2 separate regions of the Homo sapiens genome follow, and region 2 is linked to region 1. Evidence: promoter capture Hi-C in 16 types of primary human blood cells and fetal thymus (Javierre and others, 2016). All regions are on one chromosome and are shown on one strand. The core of a region is centred on a gene start or on the middle of the fragment in contact, and the rest is flanking DNA. Distances in the headings are between cores, read along the strand shown.

Region 1 (6,174 bases), core at 78-2,577:
CAGTGACAAAGATACGAAGAGACGGAGAAAAAGAACCAGAAGCAAGGAGACACAGACAGGAACGGGGACTGAGAGACAGGAACACAAAAGCTAACAGAAGTAGCAGGAAAAGACAAAAAGCAACCGAGATCAACACAAACACAGTGAAACACAGATAAGCAGTGAAAACAGAACAAACTCAGAGACCCAGCCCCAGAATCACCCCTCCCCCACCCCGCCACAGTCCATGGGTCCCCCGCCCCCTCTTCTGCCCTGGTCCAAATCCCTTCTCGCTGCGGGGTTTGTTCTCCCGCTCCCTCATGTAGCCACCGAGCCCCAGCCCCGGCCCGGCAGCGCGTTGGACTCACCCAACTTAACTGCCTCGTTGTACTTGAGCAGTGCCGCCTCCACCTGGCGCTCGCGGTACAGTCGGTTGCCCTCGTGCCGGAGTTGCGACGCTCGCGCTGGGCCTGGAAACAACTTGCCGAGGAGGCCGCTGAGCACCACGTTGACTCGCAGCGGCGGCGGCGGCTGCTGCCCAGCCCGCCGGGCTCCACGCGCCCGCCCAGTGGCCACCATCAAGGCGGAGAGCTTGACCCCGCACAGCGCACAGCGCCGGTCGGCGGCCCGCCCACGTTCCAGGCACAGTTTACAAAAGGTGTGGCCACACGACAAGGACACGGGGTCTGATAGAAACCCATGACATTTCCGGCACTTAAAGCCGTCCCACACCTCGGTGGCCGCCGCAGCCGCGGCGGCCCCCGTCTCTTCCGCCGCCACGGTGCCGCTTGCAGTGCTACCCTCGTCCGGGGGCGCCGGCGCCAGCGCCTCGCCTTGCGGGACTTTCTCCGCCAGGCAGCGCACCAGCTGCTCCAGCTGCTCAGCCACCAGCTGCTGCCGCTCGGAGAGCTGTCTATACACCTCGAGGGCTTCACGGATTCGCCCCCGGGACGCCAAGGCGTCTGCCTGCGTGAGCAGGACTTTGCTCTCCGGCGTTGAGGTCCCCGGAGACTGCTCTTGCTCTGGCTCCCGCGTCGGTAGAGGTGCGGGGCCCTCTGCAGCCACCTTTGGGTGGGGGCCCATGTCTACTTGGGCCGCTGATGCCCCTCGCTCCGCCGACTCCAAGTTGTCGCTGCTGACCTCAGCGGGCAAGCTCAGCATCTGTTCGATCCGTACTGACTCCATGGGAAGAGGGACACGGGAGGAGACGAGGCGTCTAGGGACCGGGGACACGAAGCAAGGAGTGGCAGCTGGAGGAAATCGGGGCAGCCACCGCCGCCATGCCACCGAGCTCCTGACCCTGCCGCGCCTCCGGGAGCTCCATGCCGGCCGCCCCGCGCCGCCTAATAACTGTCTTGTCTCAGCAAAGTGTTATATAAAACGGTACCACGTGACGTGCCGCCACGCTGTTCATTGGCCGGCGGCGGGGAAATTGTTACAAAACCAGACAGTTTTGTAACAGTGTTGCTCTTGCTTCTTTGGGCTTCGCTTTTCTTGGCTTCTTTTTGAGGTTGTTTGTGTTTACACTTCGCCTTATTCCTCCTCACCACCTGGTTCTTTTTCGGAAGTGGGGTTGTGGGGTGGGGAGAAACTCAGTGTCTTCTCTTGGGCTTCTCAGTCTCCAAACCCCACTCCATCCCACCTCCAAACGGGCCAGCAAACAGGTCCCCTCTGCCAGCCGCTGACCAGCGGCCCCCCACTCCTCCCAGGAGAGGCTGGTACCTCGAGGTGCACAGTCCGCAGGGTCTTCCGGGACGCCTAAGACTCTCCCTCTTGGGGGAGATGGCTGCTGTCAGGGAAAGGAAGCAGGTTGGGAGGGGTATCCGTGAAGCCCCCCCACACACACACAACCCAGTCCCAGCCCGAGAGCCCTGGGAGCCCCGCCTGGGTTCCTTGCCTTCTCCCAGGAGCCTCCCAAAGGTGGTGAATTCGGTTTCTGAGGGTGCTTGGTGTTCTGTGCCAAGAGTGACTCAGAGCAGCGGGTCCCACCGGCGCAGAAGTTGGGCAGCGCTCGCTGGACAGTGAGGAACTCGCGGAGAAGATGCGCTTGCCGGCTCAGCCCTGGGAGGGAGATGCCCCGCTAACTCCCCTCTTTACCTCTCTACCCCCAACGCCAGAACTAGCGCTGGGGCAGGCGGTAGGCGCCCAGCTGGAGACACACCAGGCCGGCCCCTGGAGCCACTGGCCGGATGGGCGCGGCAGGGATGTACCCGGCCTGCTGGGGTCGGTGGGTACTCTGGGGGCGTGGGAGAGTGGCAGGGGGAAGACGCGAGCTGAGAGCGCTATTCAGGAGAAAGTCCGCGAATCCCGGCACAGCCCAGTGGCAGACCGAATAGCCTCCAGGTTTGTCGCTCCTGAGCGCTGCGCGGGAAGGGTACAACTGGGCACGAGCCTCAGCGCCTGGTTTACAATGGCTAGGGGGCCTCGACGGTGTCCTACACACTTCCTGAAGGCGAGCGGGGTGGCCAACTGCACACTCTTTGTCTGCCTTGAACCCCCACATTTAGGACGGGAACCAAGCTCACAAATGAGCAGACAGAAAACGGTATAGTCGCACTGCTCCAAGCAGGGAGGCAGGGACTAGGCTTGCCGCTGGCTCAGTTGGCCTTCAGAGCCTGCGGGCTCTTGGGCAGTGCCAGGTTGCCGCCCCAGGGGCCTGAAGACCTATTGTTGCCCCCTGCTGCAGCCACCTCTTAGCCAGATGACCTTGGGGAAGTCAAACTTTAGAATCCATCATTTTTGCTTCTGAACAAATGTTAGAGCTGATCTTACTTGGGATTAAGTCATGTTTCAGAGTTGGGTTATGGCAGGCCCCCTCGGGTCTCTGCTTCTCTTTAGGTAGTTAAACCAGTCTTAGATCAACACCAAGGTCCCAGAGAACAGGTACTATGCAGCCAGCTCTAGAGCCTCTTTCTAATAAGACAGGACAGAGGGAGAGGGTCACAGGGCAGAAAGGAAGCATCACATAGGGGAAAAAAGACACACACACGAAAAAAAAAAAAAATGAAGAAGAAGGAGAAGGAGAAGAAGAAATAGAGAAACTCCAGATGTAGTCAGGAAAGCACGAGGGACACATTGGAAAACTTGGCTTGAAGCCTTGGATTTGTCACATATTTGCTATGAAACCTTAGGTAGGTTCTCCAAACCTTAGTTTCTCTTAATCTCCAAGGTTCCCTCCAGCTCTAACCTTGAGTGGCTTTGATCCTAAGACCAAATTTCATGATACTAACTCAGTTACTTAAGTACAAATGACTAGTCCAAATGCTGTGGATGGTGGCTTGAACCGGGGTTGAGGGGATGGGAAATCAATGGAAGATTGTCCATTTAGTCGGGGTCAGACCTGAGCTAGATTTTTTTTTTTTTTTTGAGATGGAGTTTGGCTATTGTTGCCCAGGCTGGAGTGCAATGGAACGATCTCAGCTCACCACAACCTCCGCCTCCCAGGTTCAAGTGATTCTCCTGCCTCAGCCTCCCAAGTAGCTGGGATTACAGGCACGTGCCACCACAGCTGGCTAATTTTTTTGTATTTTTAGTAGAGACGGGGTTTCTCCATGTTGGTCAGGCTGGTCTCGAACTCCTGACCTCAGGTGATCCGCCCGCCTCAGCCTCCCAAAGTGCTGGAATTACAGGTGTGAGCCACCGCGCCTGGCCCCTGAGCTAGATTTTTAAGATGTAGAAGTCGGAGGACTGGCTAAGAGGTGGAGGAGGTGGCCATACCAAGCAGTAGGGGAGAAACTGGAGTTCCTGGTGAGTTGCTATCTAACTGAAGGGAGCTCTTTTCACCTCTCAGTTTCCCCTACTATCAAATGAGGTCCCCAGCACTAATTATCTGCCTGCCCCTTCAGGCATCTGTGAGGAAGGACAGTCGTTGGGGAAGGTAGAGATTCATGAGATAGATAATGATGAAACCATCTTAATTCAAGAGCTTTACCCCTTTGACATATCTAAAATATATATATATATGTCTGTTACCCAAAATTGTTTCCTAGATGCAAATCTGGGATGTGCTTTGCTCCGTGGATGACCTTGACAAGGGAATATCCCCTGGGTTGATTCCCCTCCCTTGCCCTGTTATGGTAGGAAGGCTAAGAGAGGGCCAGGTCAGGTAGAGAGTCACAGTCCTGCAGGCATGGAGAAGAGAAGCTCTCTCCAGGCAGGCCCTCTTGGCTGCCAGTGCAGGAGGTTGACCGTGAACTTGGTCAGGAATGTGAATAGCAGTCTGGATAATGCGAGGTACTCTGGTGTAAATGGCAGTACCAGCTACTCACTGACCAGACTCCACAGGGAGTTTTACATTGTAATCAAGACTGCCTGTAGGACAACACCAAGTGGGTTTCTATTGAATGCTGAAAAACATTATCACAGTGGTTTTCTTTCTTTGTTTGTTTAAGTTAAACAAATATTACCATTACATTGATAGACATTGTTGAACCAATTCAGAAGTCTCCTACTCAGAATTTCCTTCCCTCTGCTCTTACTAATTGGAGCCCCCCTGGAATGAGGGGAAGGGGGAGATTAACACCATCTTTTTCAGGTGCAAATATTCCCTTTGGAGTGTAAGGTTCTTTAAACCTCCATTTATTTTGCTAGGATCACCTTGTGGCTAAGGTTAACCAAGAAGAGAGAGCAAGGATTGAGCTGCCCCTCATTTTCAACTAGTAGTTTTCCAACTGGACTCTCAAGAATCTCTTTGGGGCTCAGAGGAGACAAGCAGACAGGCTTTGACCCTAGCTCCCCTCAAGCAGGGCAGTATTGTATCCATCTGTTTCACATAACTGAGCCTCCAGGTATGATTTCTTTGAAGAAAAGCTGTCCCTTACAATATCAAGTTTGAAAACCATAGCAATTTTCACACATTTTCATATATTTGTTGGGCATCTTCCACATACCAAGGACTGTTCTAGATACTGGAGACACATCAAAGCAGCAGCCGGGTGTGATGGCTCATGCCTGTAATCCCAGCACCTAGGGAGGCTGAGGTGGGTTGATCACGGCGAAACCCCGTCTCTACTAAAAATACAAAAAAAAAAAAAAAATAGCAGGGCATCATGGTGCACGCCTGTAATCCCAGCTACTTGGAAGTCTGAGGCAGGAGAACGGTTTGAAGCCAGGAAGCAGAGGTTGCAGTGAGCCAAGATCACGCCACTGCACTCCAGTCTGGGCGACAGAGTGAGAGACTCTGTCAAAAAAAAAAAAAAAAAAAAGCAGCACATAACTCCCAGGCTCTCCCTCACTTATGATAGTGCATCTTTCCCCACATACACACATCCTTGTACTGGCTTCCCATGTAGGCTAGAAGCTTCAGAGGGCAAGGACTGGTGTCTTATATCTCCTCCAGTGACATAAGCAGGACAGTGCTTGAACAGATCTTACTGAACATGCCAGTGGACATTCTGGCCCTAGGAGTGTGCAGAGGGACAAGAGGAAACAGTTGGAATGCCATGCACTGTGGTCATTCACAAAGCAGAGACTGGGCACACAAACAACAAATGGTTGACAGTCCTGTACTTGGAAAGGCCTGCTGAGCAACTCTGGGACGAAAGAGTCCATTCGAAGCCAGAGACCTGTAGTAAGGTGTAAGCAACCCCGCACACACATACACATGCACACACTCTATGCCTGGAAGCTTGGCCAAAGCACACATTTGTTCTGTATCTGATATTCTCATTTTATAAACTGGGGTGACCCATAAATCTGCAGTCCTTACAGGGGGAAAAAAAGGAACCATGGACATTAATGGTATTGATATGGAAAGCAAGACCGCTCCTTGCTATACAGAGTAGCCAAAACCCACAACTAAAAGAAAGTTTAGCCGGGCATGGTGGCTCACGCCTGTAATCCCAGAACTTTGGGAGGCCGAGGTGGGTGGATCACTTGAGGCCAGGAGTTCAGGACCAACCTGACCAACATGGTGAACCCCCATCTCTACTAAGAATTAAAAAAATAAATTAGCGGGAGTGGTGGCGCGTGCCTGTAATCCCAGCTACTGAGGAGTCTCAGGCAGGAGAATTGCTTGAACCCAGGAAGTGGAGGTTACAGTGAGCCAAGATCGCACCATTGCACTCCAGCCTGGGCGACAAAGCAAGACTCTGTTTCAAAAAAAAAAAAAAAAAAAAAAAAAGGAAAGAAAAGGAAGGAAGGAAGGAAGGAAAGTTAGCTTACACATCAGCTCTGGTTTCACAAATGAGGCCACTG
Region 2 (6,251 bases), core at 343-2,842, 420 kb before region 1:
TGGGGGAGAAACTGAGTCATTAAGACTCAGAGGAGAACTGTTTACAGACTGCAGGCCAGATGTTGATGAGGGCAAGCAGAGGTGGGGAGGAAAAAGGGCCTTAACTAAATGTCATGGTCCCACCCATGAGTCCCTCTGCAGAGGAAGAGAAGGGAACTCTATTTCCAGGCAGAGGCAAAATGAGTACTGGCCTAGAGGCCTAGGTAATAAGGATGATTCCGTTCGGCTTGTCGGCTGCCAGGTGAGCCTTCCACCTCTGGCCTCCCAGGTGAGTGACAGTGTCAAGGCAAAATCCTTTGACTATTAGCCGCCAAGACTAAACTATGCGGTCAAGACCGACTCTCCCAAATGTGGGCTGTTTGTCTAATTCAGAGCCAAGGCGATATCAAAGATGCCACTGTGCCCACTGAATGAGGAACACAGGGACCGTCCCCCCAATACAGAAACATCTCTGCTTCCTGAAATGCCATCACTACCAATTCATTCTTTCAGGCTTGGTTTCCAGTTCAAATGCAGGTACCTCTGAGCTCGGTGGAAGCTTTAAGGCTGCATTTACACCTTTAGATCTTTTCCTAAGGAGCAGCTGTTGATGTGGGAGAAGGTGGAAAAGGCCCAAATAAATGAGGCCAGTGGGGTGAAGCGGTAGGCTGAGGGGGCCGTTCTCAGCTTGGGGAGGGGAAGCTGCAGCCTCTGTCGGAGCCTGAAGTCAAGCTTCATTTAAGTTGGGGAGATGTGTGGGCAAAAATCTGCGGCCTTTTCGTATCGATGGATCGGGTCCTTTCCCCACACCAAGCACTTTCTTCTCGGGGCTTGGGTCACACAGACAAAAACACCTTTAAAAGGGTCTCTCTCTTCCTAAGCCAGCCTAAGCAAAAGTTTCCAAATTGGAGGACGGTGGAAATGGTTAGGACTCATCTCTCTGGAGAGCTTTTCATTCCTTTCCTCCAAATCCTTTGCTGCATTCCACCTCCTCGCCCGGTCCAATCCGGAAAGCCTCTCGGACCAGGGCTGCGGACCACAAAACTGCATCTTGCAGGGCGGTAACCCCAAGAGAACGTGAAAAGCATTGGGGCTGCACTCTGGGGGCCATAGAGGTGGCCCACCGCCCCGAGGGGTCCCCAGGTGATCGACAAGGGGGCCGTCCCTACTCCAGGGCCCCGAGTCCAGGCAGCAGGGCGGCGTCGGGCCGCGGCTCCCCCACCCCACCCCCGTCCGGTCTCCCGGTTCCCCGGCCCCGCCCGGCTCTTACTTGCGGTAGGCGGCGAGCTGCACGGCGCTGCAGGGGAAGAGGCGCAGGCACGCCACCGCGTTCCCCTTCCACAGGGCCCGGAGCCCCTCTGCCCGCCACACCCGGTGCCCTGTGGCCCACGGTCCCCGGGCGTGGCCTCGCACGACGCCAACCTGGGCCAGCACGGTGGCGAGCTCCAGGGGCGCGGTGAGGCTGAGGCTGAGCGTCCCCGCCAGCCCAGCGCACAGCAGCCTTTGGCCGCCTGTCAGTCGGCCGTCCCGCCTCCACGTAGCCATCGAGCCCCGACCCGGGCCCGGAAGACCGCGTGGCTCGGGCCTGGGGCTCTCCGGCCACGGGCGGAGGTGGCGGGCCCCAGGCCCCGCCCGGCATGGGGCGGGCCCGCGTGAGGGACGGGAAGCCCCGTCTACGCCCTAGCCTGGCCCGAGGCTGGTCGGGGGTGGGGCGCGAGGGCCTGGAGGGTCCGGGGTCCGAGGCCGCGGATATCATGGGCATAGTCTCCCCAGTTGGCAAGGCTCGAGTAGCGACTTTCAGTTGCGAAACAGTTACTGTTCTCTCAAGGCCCAGCCTGCTAGACATCTTGCTTCCTAAATGTTCAGTGCGCCCCCGCCGCCCCTCCCTGCCTCTCCTCTGGTTTGCCCCTTTTCTCCCTTTCACGTGCCACTTCTCTGTCTTCCTCCCCTGGCGCTTCCCTCCTCCTCCTCTTGCCTCCAACCCATTTTTTTTTCCTGCCTAACCAAAAAGCCTTGATGGTTTCCCAGTGCAGAAGGTAAAAAATTCTAACAACCACAGTTGCTATCTCTCAGGCACTTGTCAAGTACTGGGCTTTACAGACGTTCTCATGTAATCCTCAAAACGGCCCTAAGTACGTATGTCCTCATTGACAGAGGCTGTGTGGGTGTGGGGACTTGAATCTGGACTCTTGAACCTGTGTAAGATTCTTGGCTCTGCAGCTTACCAGCTGTGGGACCTTGGGGAAGTCACTCAACCTCTCTGTGTGTCAGTTGCTTTATAAAACAGAGATTATAATTTTTTCCTCCTAGGGGTTGTTGTAAGGATTAATGAACAATGACTGGTATGGGTAAGCAGTTTATATGTGTTAGTTCTGATTAGGTATTCATTTACAGGAGAGGAAACCAAGACACAGAGAGGACTTGCTCAGGCTCACACAGCTACCTACAAAGCAGAGACCGGTTTGAAATCTAGGGCGGTTTATGTCAGTTTCCACTAACGGCTACACTATATGTCTACTAGGACTGCAGAGTTAACTCCAGTAGGGACATTTTCAGTGGTTCTGTAAGCTAAGAGAACAATAGAGGCAAAGAATGGCTAAGAGAGGCTTGGCCAGAATCCGAGGATTCTTTAATCAGTTCAAAAATTTCAGAATTTCAGAATTTCTTTCTGTCTCTTTTTTTTCTAAAAAAGCCATGTCACTAATAATTACAAGGAAAGGAACTGTCAGCAGTCTGTTGGTGTGAGCAAGATGTTCCGGGTACATAGTTGTTTTTAGGCTTGTATAGTTATTTACATTTACTAACACACAATGCTATAGGAACGTTTTCTAAAAGGCATTGCAGGGTTTCTCCTTTTTTATTTTTCACTGTCAATCTCACTTGAGTATGACATTACAAGGTTTTGACTGTGAGAACTTGTTCTAGTTGCAGAAGCCATACTCTGCTCTCAACAATTGGGGAATGCTTATTTTCATGTTTTGTGAATTCTTCTGTCTTGTTGTAAGCTAATTTGATGGCTGGGGGAAGCTTGAGAAAGATGTATGACTCTGAAGACCGGAGGACCCCGACTTTAAAAGGGCTTGAATTGGAATTTGGGGATTACAATAAGGAAACCTTCGGGTACTGGTACTTCCTAAAGCCCTTTGTTGGATAACGGGACAAGATTCTAAAGCTCTTTCAGGAAGTTCGTGGGTCTGGAACATTTCATGTGATAACCCCATTGTATGGAGATTGGGTCAGCCAAGTTATGTTTTTTTTTTTTTTGAGACAGAGTCTCGCTCTGTCGCCCAGGGTGAAGTGCAGTGGCATGGTCTTGGCTCACTGTAACCTCTGCCTCCTAGGTTCAAGCGATTCTCCTGCCTCAGCCTCCTAAGTAGCTGGGACTACAGGCATGTGCCACCATACCCAACTAATTTTTTTGTATTTTCAGTAGAGATGGGGTTCGCCATGTTGGCCAGGCTGGTCTCGAATTCCTGACCTCAGATGATCCACCTGCCTCGGCCTCCCAAAGTGCCGAAATTACAGGCATGAGCCACCGCGCCTGGCCTATTTTAACCTTGAAAGTAAAATGTATGGCCGGGCGCGGTGGCTCACGCCTATAATCCCAGCACTTTGGGAGGCTGAGGCGGGCGGATCACGAGGTCAGGAGATCGAGACCATCCTGGCTAACACGGTGAAACCCCGTCTCTACTGAAAATACAAAAAATTAGCCGGGCGAGGTGGCGGGCGCCTGTAGTCCCACCTACTTGGGAGGCTGAGGCAGGAGAATGGCGTGAACCCTGGAGGGCGGAGCCTGCAGTGAGCCGAGATCACGCCACTGCACTCCAGCCTGGGTGACAGCGAGACTCCGTCTCAAAAAAAAAGAAAGTAAAATGTATATTTTTCACTGCAGGTACACTGAAGCATAAAATGAATAACACCAAACTATATATTGGATGCCTTCTGTCTTTTCATGATCATGTGCTAACCAGGTGTTCATATTTTACTCAGCCAGAGTCTCATTCATCTGCTTAGCATTGGGCACCTTATGTATATTCATCCTAAACATAAATAAATCTCCGAGGATATCCTGTATTTGGATTGTGACTTGTATACTCAAGCCAACCTTATTGCCTCTTTTTCACACTTGTTGAAAAGTCTGTGGAGAGCATAGTAGGTTAACAAGCTCCAACTTTGGAAAATGTACATGATGTGAAATTGGGGTGCTATGCTAAAAATAAATGTATGATAACTAAAAAGGAAGAGGCAGTGAGTAAAAAAAAAAATCTTAGAAGTTATGTTGCAATATAAGGAGAAAGGTGGCCAGCTGAGAGTTAAGCCCTAGGCAGCCTCTCGTTGCCCCAGTCAGGGCTTGGGAGATGCTAACAGTTTTTTAAATTCTCCAGCTTTCATTTTTCAGTTTATCTTCTCACCAACTGAAATCTCTCAGTACATTACTTTAGTTTAACTTGCTAGTATTTCTTAGAATATAATTTATCTTGTTATATTTATACTAATGTTGATTGATTCCTGCTCTCCTAATTTTCTTTTATTTTTTACTTTTTGGGAAATTTGTAAATTATAAAGTAGTTTATACCTGTTGTAACAAGACAAATAGTCCAGAAGTGTATTAAAGAAAGTTAAGTTCCCCTGCCCATGCCCTGAGGTAACCACGGTTAAGAGCTTGGTGCGTGTGTGAATGTTTTTCCTCATATTTTTTTTTCATGCTCAGACCAATAAATATTTATATGGGGTTGCTTTCTCCTCCTTTCCGCTCTTCCCTCCTTCTTACCTTCCTTCTTTCCTTCCTTTGAAACAGAAAAGAAATAATTCCTCTGGAAGGATACCCAAAAAACTGATAATCAGGTTATCTTTGGGGAAGGAAACCTGGAGACTTGGGAACAGAGGTGGAAGGGAGATTGAGTTTTGACTGTGTGCCCTTTTATTTTCTTTTATTATTTATTGATTTATTTAGTTAGTTTTGAGACAGAGTCTCGCTCTGTTGCCCAGGCTGGAGTACAGTGGCACGATCTCAGCTCACTGCAACCTCTGCCTCCCAGGTTCAAGCAATTCTCATGCCTCCCCAGTAGCTGGGACTACAAGCAGCCACCACCTCACCAATCTAATTTTTTTTTTTTTTTTTTTTTGAGACGGAGTCTTGCTCTGTCACCCAGGCTGGAGTGCAGTGGCGCAATCTTGGCTCACTGCAAGCTCCGCCTCACAGGTTCATGCCATTGTCCTGCCTCAGCCTTCAGAGTAGCTGGGACTACAGACGCCCGCCACCGCACCTGGCTAATTTTTTTGCATTTTTAGTAAAGACGGGGTTTCACCGTGTTAGCCAGGAGGGTCTCTATCTCCCGACCTCGTGATCCACCTGCCTTGGCCTCCCAAAGTGCTGGGATTACAGGCATGAGCCACCGTGCCCGGCCCTAATTTTTGTATTTTTAGTACAGACGGAATTTCACCATGTTGGCCAGGCTGGTCTCAAACTACTGACCTCAAGTGATCTGCCCCCTTTGGCCTCCCAAGGTGCCAGGATTACAGGCGTGAGCCACCGCACCCAACCCTGTGTGCCTTTTTATACTGTTTACCTTTTTCTCCTGTTTTTTTTTTTTGTTGTTGTTTTGTTTTGTTTTGCCGTGGCCATGTATCATCAATTTAAAAAATTCTCTTCTCCATCAATTTTCTCTGAAGGTGCAGTGTTTTCTGTGACATTGCCTTGCCATTGGTGAGATTTTTTTCCTTTTAATGACACATCTTTATTTCCTTGGCAACTTTTTTTTTTTTTTTTTTTTTTTTTTTTTAGATGGAGTCTCACTCTGTTGTGCAGGCTGGAGTGCAGTGGCGCGATCTCGGTTTACTGCAACCTCTGCCTCCTGAGTTCCAGCGATTCTCCTGCCTCAGCCTCCTGAGTAGCTGGGGTTATAGGCGCCCACCACCACACCCGGCAAATGGCTAATTTTTGTATTTTTAGTAGAGATGGGTTTTCACCATGTTGGCCAGGCTGGTCTTGAACTCCTGACCTCAGGTGATCCACCCGCCTGGGCCTTCCAAAGTGCTGGCATGAGCCGCTGCAGCTGGCCGGCAACTTTTTTTTTTTTTTAATGTTAAACAACTCTTGATGAAGTTCTGAAAGAAACAAACAAGATACAACCTTCCTTCTATTTACATGGTACTTGCGATCCTGGAAAATGCCATGTACAAAAACACTGTGCAAAAAATGTTTTGTCTTTAGCAGTAAAGCAAAGTTAAGTTCTTGACACAGATAATTGTAAACAGGTTTTCCACCTACA

The links. Contacts are between HindIII fragments. The CHiCAGO score rates a contact against its expected background, and 5 or more counts as called.
Region 2: a contact is called between the fragment with the promoter of SLC25A43 here and the fragment with the promoter of LONRF3 in region 1, in 7 of 17 cell types (activated CD4 T cells, monocytes, naive CD8 T cells and 4 more). The highest score is 7.4, in activated CD4 T cells.

What each region holds. Positions count from the first base shown.
Region 1 is chrX:118,969,771-118,975,944 of GRCh38, reverse strand. It overlaps LONRF3 (LON peptidase N-terminal domain and ring finger 3), which reads right to left and starts at 1,327. Exons shown (of 11, transcript NM_001031855.3): 1 at 348-1,327. The coding sequence starts at 1,164. The HindIII fragment of the contact is 6,269 bases long and covers 1-5,280 here.
Region 2 is chrX:119,394,677-119,400,927 of GRCh38, reverse strand. It overlaps SLC25A43 (solute carrier family 25 member 43), which reads right to left and starts at 1,592. Exons shown (of 5, transcript NM_145305.3): 1 at 1,250-1,592. The coding sequence starts at 1,524. RefSeq lists a silencer at 1,069-1,728. The HindIII fragment of the contact is 2,295 bases long and covers 714-3,008 here.